3 separate regions of the Homo sapiens genome follow, and regions 1 and 3 are each linked to region 2. The links are contacts of gene promoters, found by promoter capture Hi-C in blood cells and fetal thymus (Javierre and others, 2016). All regions are on one chromosome and are shown on one strand. The core of a region is centred on a gene start or on the middle of the fragment in contact, and the rest is flanking DNA. Distances in the headings are between cores, read along the strand shown.

Region 1 (2,700 bases), core at 130-2,629, 260 kb after region 2:
TACTATATCTTATTCATTCTATCTGAATATATCTTTGTACTCCTTAACTGTCCCTACCCTCCACCCCTTTCTACCCTTCCCAGCCTCCAGTAACCATCATTCTACTCTCATCTCCATGAATTCCATGGTTTTAATTTTTAGCTCCCACAAATGAGTGAGAACATGTAAAGCTTGTCTTTCTGTGCCTGGCTTATTTTACTTAACATAATGTCCTCCATTTCCATCCATGTGGTTGCAAATGACAGAATCTCATTCTTTTCTATGGCTGAATAGTACTCCATTGTGCATATGTACCACATTTTATTTATTCTTTTGTTGATGGACACCTCGGTTCCAAATCTTGGATATTGTGAATAGTGCTGCAATGCATGAGAGTGCAGACATCTCTTTGATTTACTGATTTACTTTCTTTTAGGTATATCCCTATCAGTGGGATTGCTGGATCCTATGGTAGTTCTATTCTTAGTTTTCTTTTTGTTTTTTGATTATTTTTTTCTTTTTTGGGATGGAATCTCGTTCTGTTGCCCAGGGTGGAGTGCAGTGGTATGATCTTGGCTCACTGCAACCTCCACCTCCCAGGTTCAAGAGATTCTCCTGCCTCAGCCTCCTGAGTAGCTGGGATCACAGGCACGCACCGCCATGCCCGGCTATTTTTTGCATTTTTAGTAGAGACAGGGTTTCGTTGTGTTGGCCACGCTGGTCTCGAACTCCTGACCTCAGGTGATCCACCCGCCTTGGCCTCCCAAAGTGCTGGGATTGCAGGCAGGAGCCACTGCGCCCTGTCTATTTTTAGTTTTCTGAGGAAGCTCCATGTTGTTTTCCAAGTGGCTGCACTAATTTACATTCCCACCAACAGTGTACGAGGGTTCCCTTTCTCAACACTCCAGCATTCATTATTTCCTGCCTTTTAGATAAAAGCTATTTTAACTAGTATGAGATGATGTCTCATTGGAGTTTTGATTTGTGTTTCCCTGATGATCAGTGATGTTGAGCACCTGTTCACATAGCTGTTTGCCATTTGGATGTATTCTTTTGAGAAATGTCTATTCAATCTTTTGCCCATTTTAAATCAAATTGTTAGATTTTTTTTCCTATTGAATTGTTTGAGCTCCTTATATATTCTGGTTATTAATCCCTTGTCAGATGGATAGTTTGCAAATATTTTCTCTCATTCTGTGGATTGTCTCTTCACTTTGTTGCTAGTTTCCTTTGCTATGCAGAAGCTTTTTAATGATGTGATTTTTTAAAATGTGATTCCATTTGTCCATTTTTTGCTTCGGTTGCCTGTGCCTGTGAAGTATTACTCAAGAAATCTTTGTTCGTACCAATGTCCTGGAGAGTTTCTCCTATGTTTTCTTTTAGTAGTTTCATAGTTTCAGGTTTTAGATTTAAGTCTTTAATCCATTTTGATTTGATTTTTGTGTATGGTGAGAGAGCGATCTGGTTTCATTCTTCTGCATATGAACATCCAGTTTTCCCAGCACAATTTACTGACGAGACAATCCCTTTCTCAATACATGTTCTTGAAAGCTTTGTTGAAAATGAGTTCACTGTGGCTGTATGGATTTATTTCTGGGTTCTCTATTCTGTTCCATTGGTCTATGTGTCTGTTTTTATGTCAGTACCATCCTGTTTTTGTTACTTCATTGCTATAGCTCTGTAGTATAATTTAAAATCAGGTAATGGGATTCCTCCAGTTTTTTTTTTTTTTTTTTTTTCCTCATGATGGTTCTGACTGTTCTGGGCCTTTTGTGGTCCCATATAAATTTTAGGATTTTTTTTCTATTTCTGTGAGGAATTTCATTAGTACTTTAATAGAGATTGCACTGAATCTGTAGATTGCTTTGGGTAGCATGGACATTTTAATAATATTGATTCTTCTAATCCATGAACATGGAATATCTTTCCATTTTTTGGTGTCCTCTTCAATATCTTGCATAAAAGTTTTTATTGTAAAGATTTTTCACTTCCTTGGTTAAGTTTATTCCTAGGTATTTTGTTTAATTTGTAGCTATTGTAAATGGGATTACTTTCTTGATTTCTTTTTCAGATTGTTTGCTGTTAGCATATAAAAATGCTACTGATTTTTGTATGTTGATTTTGTATTCTGCAACTTTACTAAATTTGTTTATCAGTTCTAATAGCCTTTTGGTGGAGTCTTTCGTTTTTTTCAAGTATAAGATCATATTATCTGCAAATAAAAATAATTTCACTTCTTCCTTTCCATTTTGAATGCCTTTTATTTCTTTCTTTTGTCTGATTACTCTAGCTAGGACTTCCAGTACTATGTTGAATAACAGCGATGAAAGTGGGCATCCTTGTCTTGTTCCAGATCTTAGAGAAAAGGCTTTCATTTTTCCGCATTCACTATGATATTAGTATGATCAACTTATATATATATATATATATATATATATATATATATATATATATATATATACATATATATTATATATGAAAGTTGAAGGATGCAAAAACTGGGTATAGAAGGAACATATCTCAACATGAAAGCCATGCTTTTTATTGTGTTGAGGCATGTGCCTTTTATACCCAGTTTTTGAGTTTTTTTTTTCAAATCATGAAAGGATATGGAATTTTATCAAATGCTTTTTCAGCATCAGTTGAAATGATCATATGGTTTTTCTCCTTTATTATGCTGATATGATCTATCACATCGATTGACCTGTGTATGTTGTTCCA
Region 2 (2,700 bases), core at 194-2,693:
CCACACCCAAAGTGGTTGTAATGGGCTACAAAGTGGTTGTAATGAATCCATGAGAAAGCCTGCCTGCAGGCAAGCCCCAGACTTAGATGAATGTAACCTTGCTGGTGGGCGATCATTATTTGAGGAGACAGCTGGAACACGCTAACTCTAGCCTCTTCCCCCTACTAGGTGCCTAACCTGAATCTTTTTTTTTTTTTTTAATCTGTAAAATTAGACTCAAATATTACAGGGTTATCATTAACATCATCGAAGCATTAAACAAATATGAGGTATGATCAGTGAAAACAAGCAGTGGATGGGGAGCTGAGACACTGAGTCTAGTCTCAGGACTAAGATTAGCTGGTGACCTTGGGTGAAATCACTTAACCTGAGCCTCAGTTTCCTCAGGTGTAAAATCAGGATACACCCGTTCAGCAAGGATGCTGTGAGAGCATCCACCTACAACAGTGATGCTCGCAGGCCCGGGGCTGGCACCGTCGCTCTGTGGGCCTCGGCCTCTGGGTCCCCACAAGGCAGGGCTGGGACACCCGCCCGACCTCCTCCCGAACCAGAACCCCGGCTGCCCCCAGCTCCGCGGGTCTGCCCCCGACACATCCCTCCCGAAGGCCACTTGGCTTGGACACAAATCGAAACCGAAAAGCTCATGTGACACTGGAGGCAGGGATGCGGCCTCGCCCGCTCTCAGCCCAGGGAGACGCTGTCTCCACCCAACTCGGCCATCTTGAGAGGCCCGAGCAGACAAAGCGACCCCATTGTTTTGGGTGACGGCAGACGGGGACCCCTTTCCCCTCCCCGCGACCAGGAGCGGGGCGCCCTGGGGGCTCCGGGCCGGGCAGTGGGTGTGGCGAGGGCGAGCCCCGGGCGCCGCGCCGGCCTCTGCGGGGCGTCTGCGGCCCTGGGGACCCGGCCGGCGGGACGTCTGCGGCCGCCGGGCTCTGCCCATCCAGGGGTCATCTGCAGCTGCCGGGCTCCTCCCATCCCGGGGACATCTGCGACCCCGGAGGACCTGGCAGGCCCTGCATTCCGCGAGGCCTGGCTCTGGCGACCCTGCCCTCCGCGGCCCCGCACCTTTGAGCGTGGAGCGCTCCACCAGCACCGTGTGGACCTGCGGGTCCGAAAGGAACTTGCGCATCTGCTCCAGGGCGCTCTTCTCCTCCAGCGCCGCCTCCAGCGCGGCCGGCGCCTCGCCGCCGTCCTCCAGCAGCAGCGGCACCAGCTTGCGCAGGTGCTTCTGCAGCACCGACACGTCCGCCACATTCTGCACGGCCGACACTTCCAATCCGGCCGAGCCGTCCTCGCCGCCGCCGCCCCCGGGCTCCGACATGGTGTCGCGCTCGGGACCTTCCAGGAGCGATGAGAAGGCGGCCGCGACTCAGCGAGACAGCCAGCAAGAGACAGAAACGGCCGCCGGAAGCCGGACCGTCCGCTAGCCCACCGCAGACTGAGGAGAGCGGGAGCCGGCTCCGCCCTAAAGGCAGCCACTGCCAGGTGGCCCCGCCCCGCCCCGCCGGCCGCAGCCGCCGCAGCCACCCGCGCTCGCTCGCGGCCTTAGCGTCACGGCGCCGCGCGTGCGCGGGGGGCGGGCCCGGCGATGTCGCCGCGCGCCCTTCTGGGACTTGTAGTCTCGGCGCTGGTCGGGGCCCGCAGCCTCCGCACTGCGAGTCCTAGGAGATGGGGACTTGGCTCAACGTCCTGGCTCGGCGCCCGGGCTTGGCGAGGTTGGTCAGGGGCTGCGTCTGTCTTCTTCACTGCTGTGGACGCAGCGAATAGCACACAGCCAGAGAAACTTTATAGTGAATCAGTGATGTTATTGGCGAGAGCTAACGTTTAGTGAGCGCTTAGCCTGTGCCCGGCGTTGTTCTAAGCCCCTTAACCTCTCATTAAATGTTCTCTCATTGAATGAATGAATGACTACGTATCAGGTACCAAAATATAGGCACGACAGATGTGTTATTAGATATAGACCGGGAGATTGAGGATACTTTTCAGAGGGGGAGGAGATGAGGGGCGTGCTCAGAGAGTCCCATTGCCAGGCTGGAAACGGACAGCTGGGGAGGGGGCCTTCGGGGCAGTGTAAGGTTAAGCCAGGAATGACACCTTCACTGTACGTAAAGCCAAGCTGTGATGGGATCTGGTTCCTAATGACAAAAATCATTGTCCCCGAGGACGCTGTGAGGACCAAGAGGGAGACCTACTGAGAACAGCTACCTCCAGCAATGGCTCTCCTCCAGCCCCCTAGAGCTGGCACTGTCATTCTGTGGGCCTCAGTATCTGGGTCCGTACAAGGCAGGGGCTGGGTTGCCTGCCCACCAAGTTTCCCCCTAGTTCGGACCCACCACGACCTCCTCCCCTACACCATGACTACATAAGAGCCAGAATCCAGGCTGCCCAGCTGGGTGCGGTGGCTCACACCTGTAATCCTAGCATTTTGAGAGGCTGAGATGGGAGGATTGCTTGAGGCCAGAAGTTCCAAGACCAGCCTGGTCAACCTAGCGAGACCCTATATCTATGTGTATTTAAAAATTAAGAATTTTGTAAAATAATAAAAATAATAGAATCCAGGCTGCCCATCTTTGTAGTTTAGAGATGGTAGGTTCTTCTAAGGGGTAGTAATTGGCCTTTGAAAGTTCACATTCATAACTTCTTTCTTAAGTTGGGTGGAGAGAGGGAAGCCAATGGCGTTTTTTTTTTTTTTGGTTT
Region 3 (2,700 bases), core at 52-2,551, 390 kb before region 2:
CTTCTGTAACTTCCTCATATCTCTCAGCCTTCACAGAATTGAAGAGAGTTAGGGTCCTGCTGTGGATTAGGCTTTGACTTAAGGGAATGCTGTGTCTGGTTTGATCTTCTATCCAGACCACTCAAACTTTCTCCATATCCACACTAAGGCTGTTTCACTCATCATTCACATGTTCACTGGAGTAGCACCTTTAATTTTCTTCAGTAACTTTTCCTTTGCCTTCACAACTTGGCCAACTGTTTGGCACAAGAGGCCTGGTTTTCAGCTTATCTTAGCTTTTTTTTTTTTTTTTTTGTAGAGATGGAGTCTCGCTCTGTCGCTCAGGCTGGAGTGCAATGGTGCAATCTTGGCTCACTGCAACCTCTGCCTCCCGGGTTCAAGCAATTCTCCTGCCTTTGCCTCCCAAGTAGCTGGGACTACAGGTGCACACCGCCACGCCCAGCTAATTTCTTTTGTATTTTAGTAGAGACGGAGTTTCACATGTTGCCCAGGCTGGTCTTGAATTCCTGAGCTCAGGCAATCTGCCCGCCTTGGCCTCCCAAAGTGCTAGGATTACAGGCGTGAGCCACCGCACCTGGCCCCTTATCTGAGCTTTTGACATGCCTTCCTCACTAAGCTTAATCATTTCTAGCTTTTAATTTTTTTGTTTCTTAAATTGGCCAAAGTATAGCTTTTGATTTAAAATGAGAGATATGCAACTCTTCCTTTCACTTGTACACTTAGAGGCCAATGTAGGGCTATTAATTGGGTTGATTTCAGTATCCTCCTATTTCAGGGAACAGGGAGGCCCAAGGAGATGGGGAGAAAGGGGAGCAGCCGGTCAGTGGAGCAGTCAGAACACACAACATCCATTCATTAAGCTTGCCGTTATATATGCACATGGTTCATGGCACCTCAAAACAATTAAACTAGCAATATCAAAGATTACCAATCACAGATCATAGACATAATAATGAAAAAGTTTGAAATATTGTAAGAATTACCAAAATATGATAGAGAGACATGAAGTAAGCACATGCTGTTGGCAAAATGGTGCTGATTGACTTGCTCTACATACAGAGGGTTGCCACAAACCTTCAATTTGTAAAAAATGCATTATCTATGAAACTGAATAAGGTGAAGCACAATAAAATGAGGCGTGCCTATATTCCTGGATTGTGAACTCTTTGAGGAAATGATCCATGTCTTATTCATCTTTGTACATCCAGCACCATGCCCTATGCCAAGGATGCCACACCGCTGAATGGTGTTTTTTTTTTTTTTGAGACAGTCTTGCTCTTTTGTGCAGGCTGAGTGCAGTGGTGCTATAATGGCTCACTGCAGCCTTGACTTCCTGGGCTTAAGTGATCCTCCCACCTGAGCCTCCTAAGTAGCTGGGACCACATACGTGTCCCACCATGCCCAGCTAATTTTTACTTTTAATTTTTGTGGAGATGAGGTCTCACTGTGTTGCCCAGGCTGGACTCAGACTCCTGGACTCAAGCAGTCCTCCCGCGTCCATCCCTCAAAGTGTTGGGATTACAGGCATGAGCCACCAAAACCGGCTGTCACATGGCTGAATTTAACTGACTTATTTTGGTGCAAAATTGAGTGACCAATGGACATATTCATTGCACATATAAATAATAACTGCATTTGTATCATAATGATATGAAAGAACAATGCTTATGCAAAATGTCCCACGTAACTATGTGGATATAGAGGTTTGTAGAATTTATTATAAGGAAATAAGGCAAGCTTAAAGAGTATATTTTGTACACATTATTTTCTATTTTGTTTAGGAATAAAGACAAGATAGAACTAGACAGCAGCAGCCCAGCCTCGAAGGAAAATGAAGAAAAGGTGTGTCTGGAATATAACGAGGAACTGGAGAAGCTGTGTGAGGAACTGCAGGCCACCTTGGATGGGTTGGTAAGACATAAAGACGCAGGCCACTTGTGGTCACTGTCACTGAATCCGATGGACGTATTTGGGGTTTGCTTGACCATTGGCCATCACTTACTCCTTCTCAGTCTCCTCTGATGTTCTCTTCCTCTGCCTGCTGCGTAAACCTTAATGTTCCCCAAGATGCTGTCTTAGACACTCACTCCTCCTGTGCGTCATCCGGGGAAATGTCACCCACTTTCAGGGCTCATCACATAGTAAATTTTTTTTTTTTTTCCATGATATGGAGTCTTGCTTTGTCGCCCAGGCTGGAGTGCAATGGCGTGATCTTGGCTCACCGCAAACTCCGCCTCCTGGGCTCAAGCGATTCTCCTGTCTCAGCCTCCAGAGTAGCTGGGACTACAGGCGTCCGCCACCATGCCTGGCTAATTTTTGCATTTTTAGTTGAGACAGGGTTTCACCATATTGGTCAGGCTGATCTCAAACTCCTGACCTCAGGTGATCCACCTGCTGGCCTCCCAAAGGGCTGGGATTACAGGCATGAGCTACCACGCCCAGCCACAGAGTAAATATTTTAGGCTTCCAGGGCCAGCCAGTCTCTATCTCAGCTACTCATCTCTGCCACATAGGACTAAACAGCCATAGATAATATATGCGTAAATGGATGTGGCTGCATTCCATGAAAACTTTATCTTTGTTTTTTGGATTTTCTTTTTTTTTTTTTTTGAGATGGAGTCTCATTCTGATACCCAGGGTGGAGTACAGTAGCATGATCTTGGCTCACTGCAAACTCCGCCTCCCAGGTACAAGTGATTC

Evidence for each region. Contacts are between HindIII fragments. The CHiCAGO score rates a contact against its expected background, and 5 or more counts as called.
Region 1: a fragment that was not itself captured here is called in contact with the fragment with the promoter of DYNC1H1 in region 2 in 2 of 17 cell types (total CD8 T cells and naive CD8 T cells); the score reaches 5.7 in total CD8 T cells.
Region 3: a fragment that was not itself captured here is called in contact with the fragment with the promoter of DYNC1H1 in region 2 in 1 of 17 cell types (activated CD4 T cells); the score reaches 5.3 in activated CD4 T cells.

Annotation. Positions count from the first base shown.
Region 1 is chr14:101,698,662-101,701,361 of GRCh38, reverse strand. All of the region lies in intron 1 of LINC02320 (long intergenic non-protein coding RNA 2320), which reads left to right. Among named protein-coding and RNA genes, the nearest start is that of LINC00239, 30 kb to the left of the region's middle. The HindIII fragment of the contact is 307 bases long and covers 1,226-1,532 here.
Region 2 is chr14:101,963,316-101,966,015 of GRCh38, reverse strand. DYNC1H1 (dynein cytoplasmic 1 heavy chain 1) reads right to left here and starts at 1,443. Exons shown (of 78, transcript NM_001376.5): 1 at 1,069-1,443. The coding sequence starts at 1,324. RefSeq lists silencers at 751-960, 1,451-1,610 and enhancers at 486-1,095, 1,096-1,706, 1,751-1,890. The HindIII fragment of the contact is 2,903 bases long and covers 1-2,700 here.
Region 3 is chr14:102,354,979-102,357,678 of GRCh38, reverse strand. CINP (cyclin dependent kinase 2 interacting protein) reads left to right here. Exons shown (of 5, transcript NM_032630.3): 3 at 1,782-1,911. Among named protein-coding and RNA genes, the nearest start is that of CINP, 6.6 kb to the left of the region's middle. The HindIII fragment of the contact is 877 bases long and covers 863-1,739 here.